Regions from separate parts of the Homo sapiens genome. Here region 1 is linked to region 2. Evidence: promoter capture Hi-C in human tissues and cell types (Jung and others, 2019). All regions are on one chromosome and are shown on one strand. The core of a region is centred on a gene start or on the middle of the fragment in contact, and the rest is flanking DNA. Distances in the headings are between cores, read along the strand shown.

Region 1 (5,783 bases), core at 2,502-5,001, 400 kb before region 2:
TCAAGATGCATGTCTATAACTTTCTGTAAATAGCCGCATGGCAATGCTGAGAGTCCCCTTGATCCCCAACCTCAAACCCATTTTACAGAACTGGTTGAGGCTGCTCCTTTGATTTTATGTCGTGTAAAGTCTTTGTTCCCCAGCCCCACCCCTGCCTCCTCCCATCGGGAAACCCCCCATGGGAGTCATCAGTGGGCGGGAGTCGGTGCCTGCTCCAGTCCAGCCCTGCCTTGGGAGATGCTGGAGGACCCTGTCGCCCTGAAGGCCTGTTTGCTGCACATCTGCCTGCAGAGCCAAACCTCAGGGCCCGGTGCAGTGTCCAGCCTGGTATCTGGCATCCCAGTAGCTTCCATGTTCTGTGTATGTGTGTGGTGTGCCCCTTCCTCCCACTGTTTGAATTCACTGAAAAGCCATAAAGGGGGCCTCCTGCTGGAGATTTGGCCTCCCTTGGCTCCTCCCAGGAGCCCCCATGTCTCTCCAACTGGCTCCCCACAGACCACTTCTGAAGGGCTCACCTGTTGTCACTCCCTCCTGCTCCCTCAGTCCCGTGTCATGAGAATGGACGGTGTCCAGGGCTTCCGGTGGGGTCTCAGGAGATGCCCATGCTGGCCCTGCCCGAGCTGGCTTTCTCGGCCTGGGTTCACAGTTCAGCTCCATCTCTACGCTGGGCGAGGAGCAGACAGCAGTGGGACTCCATGGTTCTGGATACCTTTCCTGGGGTCCCTGTGGAGGCAACCAGGATTTTCAGGAGCAGCCAGTCAGCAGCTCAGCCAGGGATGACAGAACCATCCCTGCTTACTCACCTCTGTAGTGTGAGGGTCTGTGGGTGGTGATGGAGGAGGGACTCAGGGAGAGGCCGGTGAATACAGGGGCTGACGCTCTTCCCTCGTGCATCCTCCTGCAGTCTGACAGAAAGCAGCCCAATAGCGGGGCAACCTCAGGGCTACCAGCGATCCCCTGAGAGTGGGGTGGGCAGGTTCAGCTGTGAGAGAGGCTCAGGCAGAGCAGGTGTGGACTAAGTCCCCTGACCTTCACACCTGCTCCCCAGAGAAGCCCCAGCCAGTTGCACCAAGTAGCAGAGGTGAGTAGAGGGGCCTGGGGGCTTCCAAGGCCCCAGGTCATCCTGTTGAACTGAGAGGGACAGGTAGCCCCCCTGCCTGCGGCCCCTGGCCCCATGGGCACCTGAGGGCAGTACTGCATGGGAAGAGCCCAGGATGCCTCAGGCCTGGCAACTGTGACAAGTATGAGGAAGGAGAGAGAACGGGAAGGGAATCAGGCAGGGCGCATTCGAGGAGGCCAGAGGTGGCGAGGCAGGCTTGCCCTGCACAAACCACAACAGAAGTTGCACACAGAAGTCCCAGGGACCTTTGTGCTGGGAACTGAAAGAGTGGGGAAGGTGGAGGGGACCATTTCAGAGCAGGCTGGAATCAGGTGCTTGGACCAGTGAAGACATGTCTTGCTTCCTCCAGCTCTCTCTGGGGCCCTCCCACTCTCCACACCCACAGCAGAGACAAATTGAGGCAAGAGTTGAGAGAGCATCTGTCTGGTGAGGTGATGGGAGCAGTGTGCATGGGGCACCAGGAGTTCCTCCATCCCACCTGCCTTAGCGATCAGGACTTTAGGGGGGCCTCTTCAAAGATAGTGACCCTTCTGCCCTGACTCCTGCCCATCTAAGGACTTGATTTGCTGCTTTCTGAAAACCCTGGGGCTGAAAACTTCAAAATCAGGGCCTGGCAGAGCCTAGCTTCGCCAAGGTCAGCCCACCAGGAGCCCTGCCTTCGTCTCCATAGGAAGGACACATGTACAGCCCTTGCCCCCGGCCCTCTCATTCCCACTTCTGCTTGGCAATGCTCTCCATCTCCCTTATGTGGACTCTTGTTCTTGTCTGATCTCTTGTCAAATTGTTATTTTGTAATGAACTGCGTCTCCTTATTAAAGAAATGAGCTGAAAGAAACCTGGGGGTGGGGGGTGTCTCTGGTTGTTTTTGCTGCGCTGAGGTGGGGGTGAGGGAGTGGGAGCTGCCTGTGAGGGTCAGTATGGTGGGTGAGGGTGGTGAGATGGTCCTGAGGCTCTGGCTTCTAACCCAGAATCTCCCTTCAGGGAAGCACCAAAAGGGGCTGAGGTCCCCTCTCTCCTGGGGTTGGGGGAAGACCAGATTGGCACTCTGGTGGGTGCTGGGGCCCACACATCTCCTGAGAACACATGCCAGGCTGTGGAACTGTGGGGAGTGTGGTGGTGCCGGGGAACATTGTCTGGGAGGCTGGGCGGGGCGGGGTGGTGGTGGGGACTATATTCTTGAATTCCCTTCCAGTAGAGCTGGGCTTAGGGAACAGCCACAGTCTGAGCCCAATGACGAGAGGGAGGCTGGCCCTGGGAAGTGGGAATTTGAAAAGTAACAATTTCTACAAAGTCCTCAGTTGACTCTTTGCAAATAACTTGAAATGTCTTTAACTTCTGAAGCAAAGATGTTAGGGACCAGGGATAGGGCGTCAGAATTTTTAGGGAAAGGGAGAGTGGGACAGCATTGCCCCCAAAGACCAGGGAAGAGTAAAACTCCTTCTTCGGTTCCCACTTCCACCTGTCTCCTCTCCTTGAGGATAGACCAGCAGCTACCATTTTTGTCAGTTTACACCAGCACCTGTCCTCCAGGAACACCGTTGGCTAGATGTGTGCTTGTCCATCAGGTCCAAAGGCATGGGGGCAGTGAATGCAAGCAGGGATGGGAGCTGCCCACCTGAGGGAGCATGAGCCCAGATCCTTTAACATCTATCCTGTCTTGCTGCTTCAGTCCCTAAGGCTGGGTAGGGTGAGGGGCATGAGCCTTTCAGCAGACGGACTGGGATTTATCACCTGAGGGTCTCCTGGCTAAGAATATGAGCTTTTTACTCTGCCAATAGGTTGTGGCCTTCTCCTTTCCCCCCAAGAGGGCTGGACCACGTGACGGCTAGGTGATACTGTATCTGCAGACCTTACTACAACCAGTGGGGGTCAGAAAGAGAAATGACATTTGCAGTCTAGGAACCCTTTGCATCGGTCATGCTTCTTTGCCTCTGTTTTGTGCCCCAGGACAGGACTGAATTCTTCAACCATGACATCAAGTGTGCTTGTTCTGCTGCTGCTTGGGTTACAAACAGCTGGGTGACATCAGGGGAGAAGAATCTTCCCTCCCTGACCTCTCCCCAAGTCAGTGACCAGGGATTTCCGCTTGGCAGGAAACACAGGGCTGAGCAAAGCCAGAGGCAGGGCTTGCTGGATGGAGAAACCAGACCCAGATCCTGGCTGCCTGGGGTCAGACCTGGCCACCCACGTACAAACCCTGCCAGCGGGCCTGAACAGCTCTTCTCTGGGCATGGCTCCTTCATTTTGAGTTTAGATTTAACCTTCAATAGCCCCCAAGTTAACTACATTTGTAGTTTGGAACTACAGGATAGTTTTGGATCTCCTGAATTAAACAATGACCTCATGAAGACTTATGGATATAGCAGATGACTAAGGGTGATGGCAGGAGACTTCCATGAGCCCAAGGAAATCACCACCTCCCTAGACCTCAACTTTCCCATGTACTAGAGTGTGCTAGTGTTCACCTGGATGGCCTCAACACCTTTGTCACTTAAACCTGGTGTCTTCCAAGAAATAACCGTATATACTCTTGGTTACTTGAAGCTTGGAACCTTGATATCTATCTATCTATCTATCTATCTATCTATCTATCTATCTATCTATCTTACGGTTCTTTTGAACGCCAATCTAGGCTTCTCCTTGGCCTGACTCCATTTAGGAAATTCCTTGATACTACCAGAGACCCTTCTCAGTGGCCATGACTCACTGTGGCTGTCCCTGGGGAAGGGGCCTCTATGTGGACAGGAGTTGTAGGAGGCTGGTGGGCGAGGCCCCCACCAATGATAAGATGTAAAATCAGAAGAGGCTGCCCCAGATGTGAGATTCTAGAAATCCCATGCTCTGAACTGTGGAGACAGTCACAAAGTTAAAACACAGTTTTATTTACTCATTTATAAATACTGTTGTGTTTACAGGCATCATATAGAAGTGAATATTATTATTCCCAAACTTTCAAACACAGAATACTCAAAACTATATAACAACAACCAGTAAAACAAAACCATTCATCTTAGGGTTGAAAGGCCACTCAAAATTGCATAAAAATACATTCAGTTCACAAAGCAAGTCTGGCTGCTTCTCCCTAAACAACCCCAACCCCACCCCATCCCAGGTGTATTTACAGTGGACTGAAGTTAATCCATACAACTCAGCTGAAAAACAGTTACATCTGGTGTGTGAACCTTGGTGGAACTAGGGTGAAGGGTGGAGTAAAGACACAAAATGCTACCACTAAAATGGGAGAGGCATGGAAACCTCAGGGTGGTTCTTTTCACCCCTGTTGATCAAGGTCAGGGCAAAGACAAGGAGGAAGGAAAACCATAAAGCCAAAGTCTGAGTGTGAACCACTCAACTGAGCACAGGCTGTAGCTTCTCCAAGAAGGATGCAAGGGTGAAACATTCTTTCCTTCCTTCTGCAGGGAAATCATTGCCCTGGTGTGCCAGCCAGTGGTAGGCACAACCTTTCAAAAGTTCAAGGGATGCTGGCTAGAAAAGGAGGTATTCTGGATTGCTGCCTCCTCTCAGAACCCTCTCCTACCCCGCAGCCTGCCTCCTGGTGTCTTTTTTCCTCCAAACTCTCTTTACCTAACCTCTCTTCATCAGAAGGCAAGCGGGAATCTGTTCCGGGTTTCAGTAGAGTGGGAGAAAGGACAGGCAAAGGCACAGATATTTAGGCGAGAGTCAAGCTACTTCTGGCCCTTGCATGTCCCTTATTCAGGAATAGTGGGCCCCGACGACTGGCACTCCGACTCTCAACTCTGGTTTTGGGAGAACATTAGAGGCTCTTAAGAGGCTCCCCACCATCAGTGTGCCTTTCCTGAATCCTTGCTCTTTGAATGGGCTGAGCTGTTGCCACCAGATGCACTGATACACTGATTGATTAGGTTTGTGCTGGGAAGACACACTTCTGTTTTAAGCTATAAACAGTCTCAGGATAAAGAGTAAACCAGACATGGCTACTCATGGTCTCCTTGGCCAGGCTATGGAGGAGTCATACGGGCCTAAAAGTCAAACCTCATCTCTGAGGGGACATTAGCATAGCCGAGGAGCTTTGAAACTGGAATAGGGGGCGGTGGTGGTGGTGGTTGGTATACCCAACTTCTACAGGAATCTTGGCTGATTCATGGAAAACCACCTCTCTAAAGCACCCTCGGCTCCAAGTGAGAAAAGCAAGGAATTAAGAATGCAGAGGGAGATGAAAGGGAGAGGAGTGAAGTGTATGCTTATTCTGGAAGGACATAAGAGCATCCTGATGTCACCTTAAGGGGCCACCCAAGTAAATCTTTATTGGAAACATCAGGGAAAAATTTGGAGGAGAAATAACAGAAAATATCACTCTGGCAGATTCATGGTCCAAAATAAGCAGATGAATTGGGGAACAGCTCAAATAGGTCCTTTGGGGGATTAGAAGGGAGGGGGAAAAACAAAAGATATGATTTAATAAATAAAATTGGTTTCTGAGTTTTCATTTGTAATCAAGTATATGCCAGACCTCATTTTAAAAGCTCTGGGCTAGCAAATGTGCATGTGAACGCACATAAGCTAGATCCAAGAGTTATCCCCAAATTGCTAAACCTTTTTAGGTAAGGCCAGAACATTCATTAATGGTATTGTCTTTAGACACACCCACCTCTTACTTACAGTTCTCCCGAAGGAGGGCTTC
Region 2 (5,782 bases), core at 2,770-5,269:
GGATTGTCTGCCCAACAAGTTATGTGCTGTCTGTGTATTCCTGTCTCTGCATCATGTGCACATGCAATGGAATAGAACAAGAGGTGATACTTTTGTAGTTAAGAAGTGTGACAATTGGGTTTTCGTGCTCACATGTGAGAAGTGCCTCCCTCAAACCTTGTTATGAAGTCAGCACATTACTGGTCTTCTTTTTTTTTTTTTAAGAAGAAAGAAAAAAGAATAGAACAAGAGGCATCATGCCTTCTCGTCACCATCAGATTGGATGTCCCAGAGCCAGGGGCTCCATCTCCCTCTTGGTCTATTTCCAGAACAGGCCCTAACCAGGGAGAATGTCAAAACCCCGGTGAGTGTCAATGAGCCTCGCTGAGACTATAGTTTAAGAGGAAACTGTTGCAAAAAAGAGAGACATATGGAGGATTGTGAGTATCTGAAGTCCGTCTTCCCAACCTTGATCAAACAGGGCTGGCATTGAGCCCAAAAGTGGTAATAGTTTTTGGACATGTGTGTCAAGGCAAAGAATACCAGTTGGCTATAAAGACGCCTTTCTGGTCTTCCCTAGAACCAAGATGGAGAGGTGGAAGCACCTACCTCATGAAAGGTATTGGCTAGAAGGAGAAAATCTCACAGCCGTGGAGTGGGGGAAGAGATGTGATGTCATTTTTATTGAGACCAGGTCAAGGAATGTGCAAGAGGACTTGCGGGTACCTTCTGGAGCCCATAGCTCCTGGGCGCCTCCTATAGTTCTGTCTATGGCTTCTTCTAAGGATCTTCGAGTCTTCTCTGGCCTGCTACTTCCTGCATGTCCAAGTGTTTTAACATTTTTCATTTTAACTCTGTGTCAGGAGGACCTAAGTCCCCACTCTCCCTCCCGATCCCCAACCCCCAATTTTCACCAACTGGTTGGGCTCCAAGTCCCCAGAACCAGCCAAGTATTGATCAAGAGTTGCCCTGACAGTCACCTCCCCAGCACACAGCTCTCTTCCTCCAGCCACAAACCATTCCCTTGAATTCTACACTCACCCACTAGGCTCAATTTTCTTCTGGTGTGGAGAGGCCTGGTAGTTTACCTCCACCTCCATGGAGCACCCATAGGAGGCATGATAATACTAGCCACCATTTCAGAGTTACCCTCGGGTGTCAGGCACTCTGGGGACTTTCATTGAACATATTATCTCATTTAATCCACTCAGCAACCTGCTTCCTCATCTCCATGTACACATGAAGAACCTGAGGCTTAGAGGTGTTCAGTGAGTGATTCTCAGTAGGTGGCAGAGCTAGGAAGGAACCAAAGTTTGAGTGGCTCAGAGAGAGGCACTGCTGATTATATCATCAGATGCGAATCTGTGCTCTCCTCAGCAAGGGCTGGGATACATGGGGCAGGGCCAAGCTGGACATCTCCTAACATCGCTGAAAAGAGAAAGGAGCCCCAAGACTTCCCCACCCTGGCTCTTCTGCATGCCAGCTCTCAACCCCACCTTCAGGTGCCTTTCTGGTAGAGCTGTTCTCCAGAGAGGGCAAAGAAAGAAAATTCCTCCTCTGAGACACCCTCAGGACAACTGTAGGAATCCTTCATGCACCATCCAGATGGGACCCCTCCCCAGCCCAGGGCAGGGGACACGGTCCTCTGCCACCTCCTTCCAATATTCCAGACCCCACTGCTAAATTCCCCATATTGCCTCAGGACCCATCATACTCTTTATAGCTCCCACTCCCTCTCTTCTCTCCACAACTCTCAGAAGCATCCCCTGAGTCTTGAGAGAGAGGGGCTTTCTCAATCCCCAGGAAGACACAGACCAGCTCAGAAAACCCCACCTCCACTGAACCCAAATGCAGACTTCACAGCTCCGAGGGAATTGTGGCAAGCTAGTGGGAAAAACTTCTGCCAGCATGGATGGTAGGATGCTTGAATTCCAAAGGTGACAGTGTACCTCCTTCCCCAAGTCCTTCTAGAAAAAGGGTCATTAACCAGTCTAGGAAGACTTAATGCTGGGAAAGGAAGCTCTGGAAGGCCTTATCTCCCCTGCCCCTTCAACCCAGGCAAGGGACCTTCCTTCAGCTCACCCAGAGAAAGGCTCCACAGAAGTCACATCTAAACTCTTTAGCCACAGGACCCTGTCTTCAAATGAACCAATGTCACATACTCCCAGGATAGAAAACTGCTGAAAGAGGGGCTGGCCTGTGTGTAGGGTGGGGCCGGAGCCTGCCCTGCTTTGCCAGATGCTGAGCGCCCAGGCTCTGTGCAGTTGGTACCTTTATTCCCATGATTGCCTCTGCCGTCACCTACTGCACTGTGAAGGATTCCATTTGTCCTTCTAGATGGACATTATTTTTCTCTTCCCACTCCCTTACCTGGCCCACAGCCTGTGCCTTTTGGAGTGGAGGGGGACATCCCAACCTGGGGACAGGGACATTTGGAGAGGAGCCCCATGAAGAGTTGCCCTCTGGGACCCTCTACCTCCCACCAGGACACTCCCAACACTGAGCATCTTTAGTTCCACAAATTCTTGCTAGGCCCCTATAAAGATTCACCCAGCCTCCTCTTCCTCTAAGCTCCCATGTGCTGGAACCCCAAAGCCATAAGGAGCCTCTCTCAGGCCAGAAGGAACTCTGGGATCCTAGCCCTCAGCAGAAGGCCCCACCAGGCTTTCCCACCTGCTCCCAGCTCCTCTGAGGAAGTTGATAGAGCCTGCAGAGCTGGGCTGGAGGAGGTTTCCTTGCCCCAGAGCGGGGCTGGGGGTGCAGGTGGGTGGCCTGGAATGTGCTCTCTCACCCTCCTCCTGCCCAGGTGGTGAGCAGCCAGAGCCCCCAGCCCTCCAGCTCTGAGGGGAAGCTCCCATGAGCCAGACAGACAGGACAGCTGCCCCCAGTAGGGTCCCCTTCACGCGCCATCTCACCCCAACTCAGACGCTAAAAATGGTTCTCTGGTTTTCAGCCTCGGCGCCTGCCCACAAATTAGTGTCTCCAACACAGCCTCTTGGGACATGACTTTAGGGAGGCCCCTGGGGGAGCCAGGAGGCCCCAGTGAAGGGAGATGGTGCTGGCAGAGTCCCTTTCTGAGGAGACAAGAGTGGATAAGGCCCCCCTCCCAGCTTCTAGGAAACCCGCCCCCCCCGCCCCCACGAAGGCCACCCAGCCTCAGTGTGACAGCCCTGTTGTCCTCACCATGGCAGAAGAACAGACATTATTTCCACCCTACTGGGGCACGCTCCCCTCACCTCCACCTCCAGTTCTGTCAGCTTTACCCTCAGCCACCATCCCGGGCACTGCTCTGCTAGAAGAGAATGCAGCAACAGGAGATGGAGCAGCCAGCCCCGCGCCCTCCCGCTCAGGGTCCAGAACCCACCTCGCCAAGCCTGGGCTCCCATAGTCAGCCCACAAGCACGGAGGCCAATGGGGAAGCCAAGTCAGGGAAGCCCGGTCTCCCTGCTCGCCTGGTATTTAGTCTCAGACTCTTCTCCCCTCCCCAGTCCCGCAACGGTCAACTTGGAAGGGGGCAAACCCTCTCCGGGATGCCCATGCCCCAGGGCACCAAGCAAGCAGGTGCCCTGCTGAGGCCGGGACTGGGCGCTAGCCAGCAGCCCGCAGGACCAGGCGGGGACAGGCGGGCAGTACTCACAGGTAAGCCGTCAGGGGGTCCAGGTCCCCCGGAACGGCGGACAGCCCGAGCTCAGAGCAGTCGGCAGACAGCATGATGCCGTCCTCCTGGCAGTGGCAGGGGGCCGGGCAGGCGGTGGGCCCCGGGCCGGGCTGGGGGGCGCCGCCGGCCCTCCGGGAAGCGCACAGCGCGGCGCAAAGCCATAGCGCCCGGAGCCCCGGCGGGCTGGGCATCTCGGCGGTCGGGCTACTGGGGCACCTGGCGGCCGGGCGCGGACGCACGGCGCGATGGCCGCAGCTGCTTCCTCCCGGTCCCGGCGGGCTGCACCGTCGGTGGGGACCGCCCCAGGGGCTCTATTGGGCGGCGGCGGCGGCGGTGGGAGCGCCGGGACGGTGCAGTCAGAGAGGGGCAGGCATTGTTGAGTGATCTTCGTTATTCAGTTTCACAGGCTGGGCTTGGCAAGGGAGGGAGACCCAGCCGGAGGAGGAGTCAAGGAAACTTTCTACACTGCGGCTCGCTCCTCTTCCCTCCTTCCTTCGGAGCTGGCAGGAATTTCATCCAGGAAAGAAAAAAAAAAAAGGAAGAAAGCAAAGAAACCCAAGCGAGCAAAGCTCAGCCCGTCAGAGACCTGCATTTGTTTGGATAGGGTGTCCCAGGGCCTTGGCCGCAGGGCTGGGGACCCTCTTGCCTTTGGGGACAGCCACGAGGTCACATGGGACCCAGAGGAGGTCTCTGAAAGAGGCCTTGGGGCTCCCATTGCCCCTCATGCCTCCACCACGTTTCACACTGCAGGAAACTGAGACCCAAGAGGCAAAATGATTTGTTCAAGGTGACACAGCTGATGGGACATCCCCAGAGCTGGAACTCGTCCACCCTCCCTGGCCTGTCTGCTAGGACAGGAGAGAGGGGAGTGAGGGGCTACCCTGGAAGAGGCCAGGCTGCGGAGGGTTCCACTGCAGGCTGGGATGACCCGACGGTGGGCAACCAGGAGCAGTCTCCTCACTGAGAGGCCGGGCCTTGACTCCAAAGAAACGGGTGTGGAGTTACACCCGCTGAGTGCACCCTGGGTGGAAATGCACTCCTGCAGCCTCTGTCAGGTTTACGGCCTGGGGACCACCTTGATCCCTGCTCCCAGGACCTCGGGAGTCTGAGGGACTGTGGGCAGCTCAGCTGGTTGTCAGAGCCCACCTCAAAGTAAGCGGATTGGTGCCACCTGGAGGCCGGGTGCTGCACCTGCAGCTCAGCCACCCTGAGGCTGGAATCCCACCAAGTGGCTGACCTGGGCCGGCCCCAGAGCCCTGGAGAGCAAAGGGCATGGTGGTTAAAACTGAGGTCAATCCCTGTTCTCTCCTTAGACCATAGTGAGCTGGCTGTGCTTCCTTCATGCAGCCTCTTGCTCTCTCTGGTCTCTCCCATGCTGAGCCAAGCCCCCGCGCAGAGCTAGAGCAGGCTGTGGGCCCCCCTCCTTCCTTTTTTTGCCCTATCTCCCCATGGTCCAGCCAGAGGGTATACTAGAAACCTGGGACCTCAGAGGCATCCAGGATTTCTTCCACCCTGTCTTTCCACATGCCAGGATCCTCTCATCAACACCTCTCCACTCTCCCAATAACCTCCCAGGGCTAGAGGGGCTGCATAGCTGGACCAAGAAATGAGCAGACCTTGACCCTAGGCCTCCAGTTGGTGCCATGGCGCTGAAAGTAGAAGACGAGCCTCCGCTCTCGCTCTCCCTCTCCCTCTCCCCTCTTTCCACGGTCTCCCTCTGATGCCGAGCCGAAGCTGGACTGTACTGCTGCCATCTCGGCTCACTGCAACCTCCCTGCCTGATTCTCCTGCCTCAGCCTGCCGAGTGCCTGCAATTGCAGGCGCATGCCGCCACGCCTGACTGGTTTTCGTATTTTTTGGGTGGAGACGGGGTTTCGCTGTGTTGGCCAGGCTGGTCTCCAGCTCCTAACTGCGAGTGATCCGCCAGCCTCGGCCTCCCGAGGTGCCGGGATTGCAGACGGAGTCTCCTTCACTCAGTGCTCAATGGTGCCCAGGCTGGAGTGCAGTGGCGTGATCTCGGCTCGCTACAACATCCACCTCCCAGCAGCCTGCCTTGGCCTCCCAAAGTGCCGAGATTGCAGCCTCTGCCCGGCCGCCACCCCGTCTGGGAAGTGAGGAGCGTCTCTGCCTGGCCGCCCATCGTCT

What was found. The method cuts DNA at HindIII sites, captures the fragments that hold promoters and counts their contacts. A contact is called where the count stands out against the background at its distance.
Region 1: a fragment that was not itself captured here is called in contact with the fragment with the promoter of LGR6 in region 2 in 1 of the 25 tissues and cell types used here (neural progenitor cells).

The regions. Positions count from the first base shown.
Region 1 is chr1:202,586,768-202,592,550 of GRCh38, reverse strand. It overlaps PPP1R12B (protein phosphatase 1 regulatory subunit 12B), which reads right to left. Exons shown (of 24, transcript NM_002481.4): 24 at 1-5,783. SYT2 (synaptotagmin 2) reads left to right here. Exons shown (of 9, transcript NM_177402.5): 9 at 1-1,955. Among named protein-coding and RNA genes, the nearest start is that of SYT2, 120 kb to the left of the region's middle. RefSeq lists enhancers at 611-1,437, 3,108-3,157, 2,563-3,762. The HindIII fragment of the contact is 7,763 bases long and covers 1-5,783 here.
Region 2 is chr1:202,192,036-202,197,817 of GRCh38, reverse strand. It overlaps LGR6 (leucine rich repeat containing G protein-coupled receptor 6), which reads right to left and starts at 4,019. Exons shown (of 18, transcript NM_001017403.2): 1 at 3,617-4,019. The coding sequence starts at 3,828. It overlaps LOC124904840 (small nucleolar RNA U13), which reads left to right and starts at 87; the gene lies at 87-190. RefSeq lists enhancers at 4,886-4,935, 4,630-5,433. The HindIII fragment of the contact is 27,919 bases long and covers 1-5,782 here.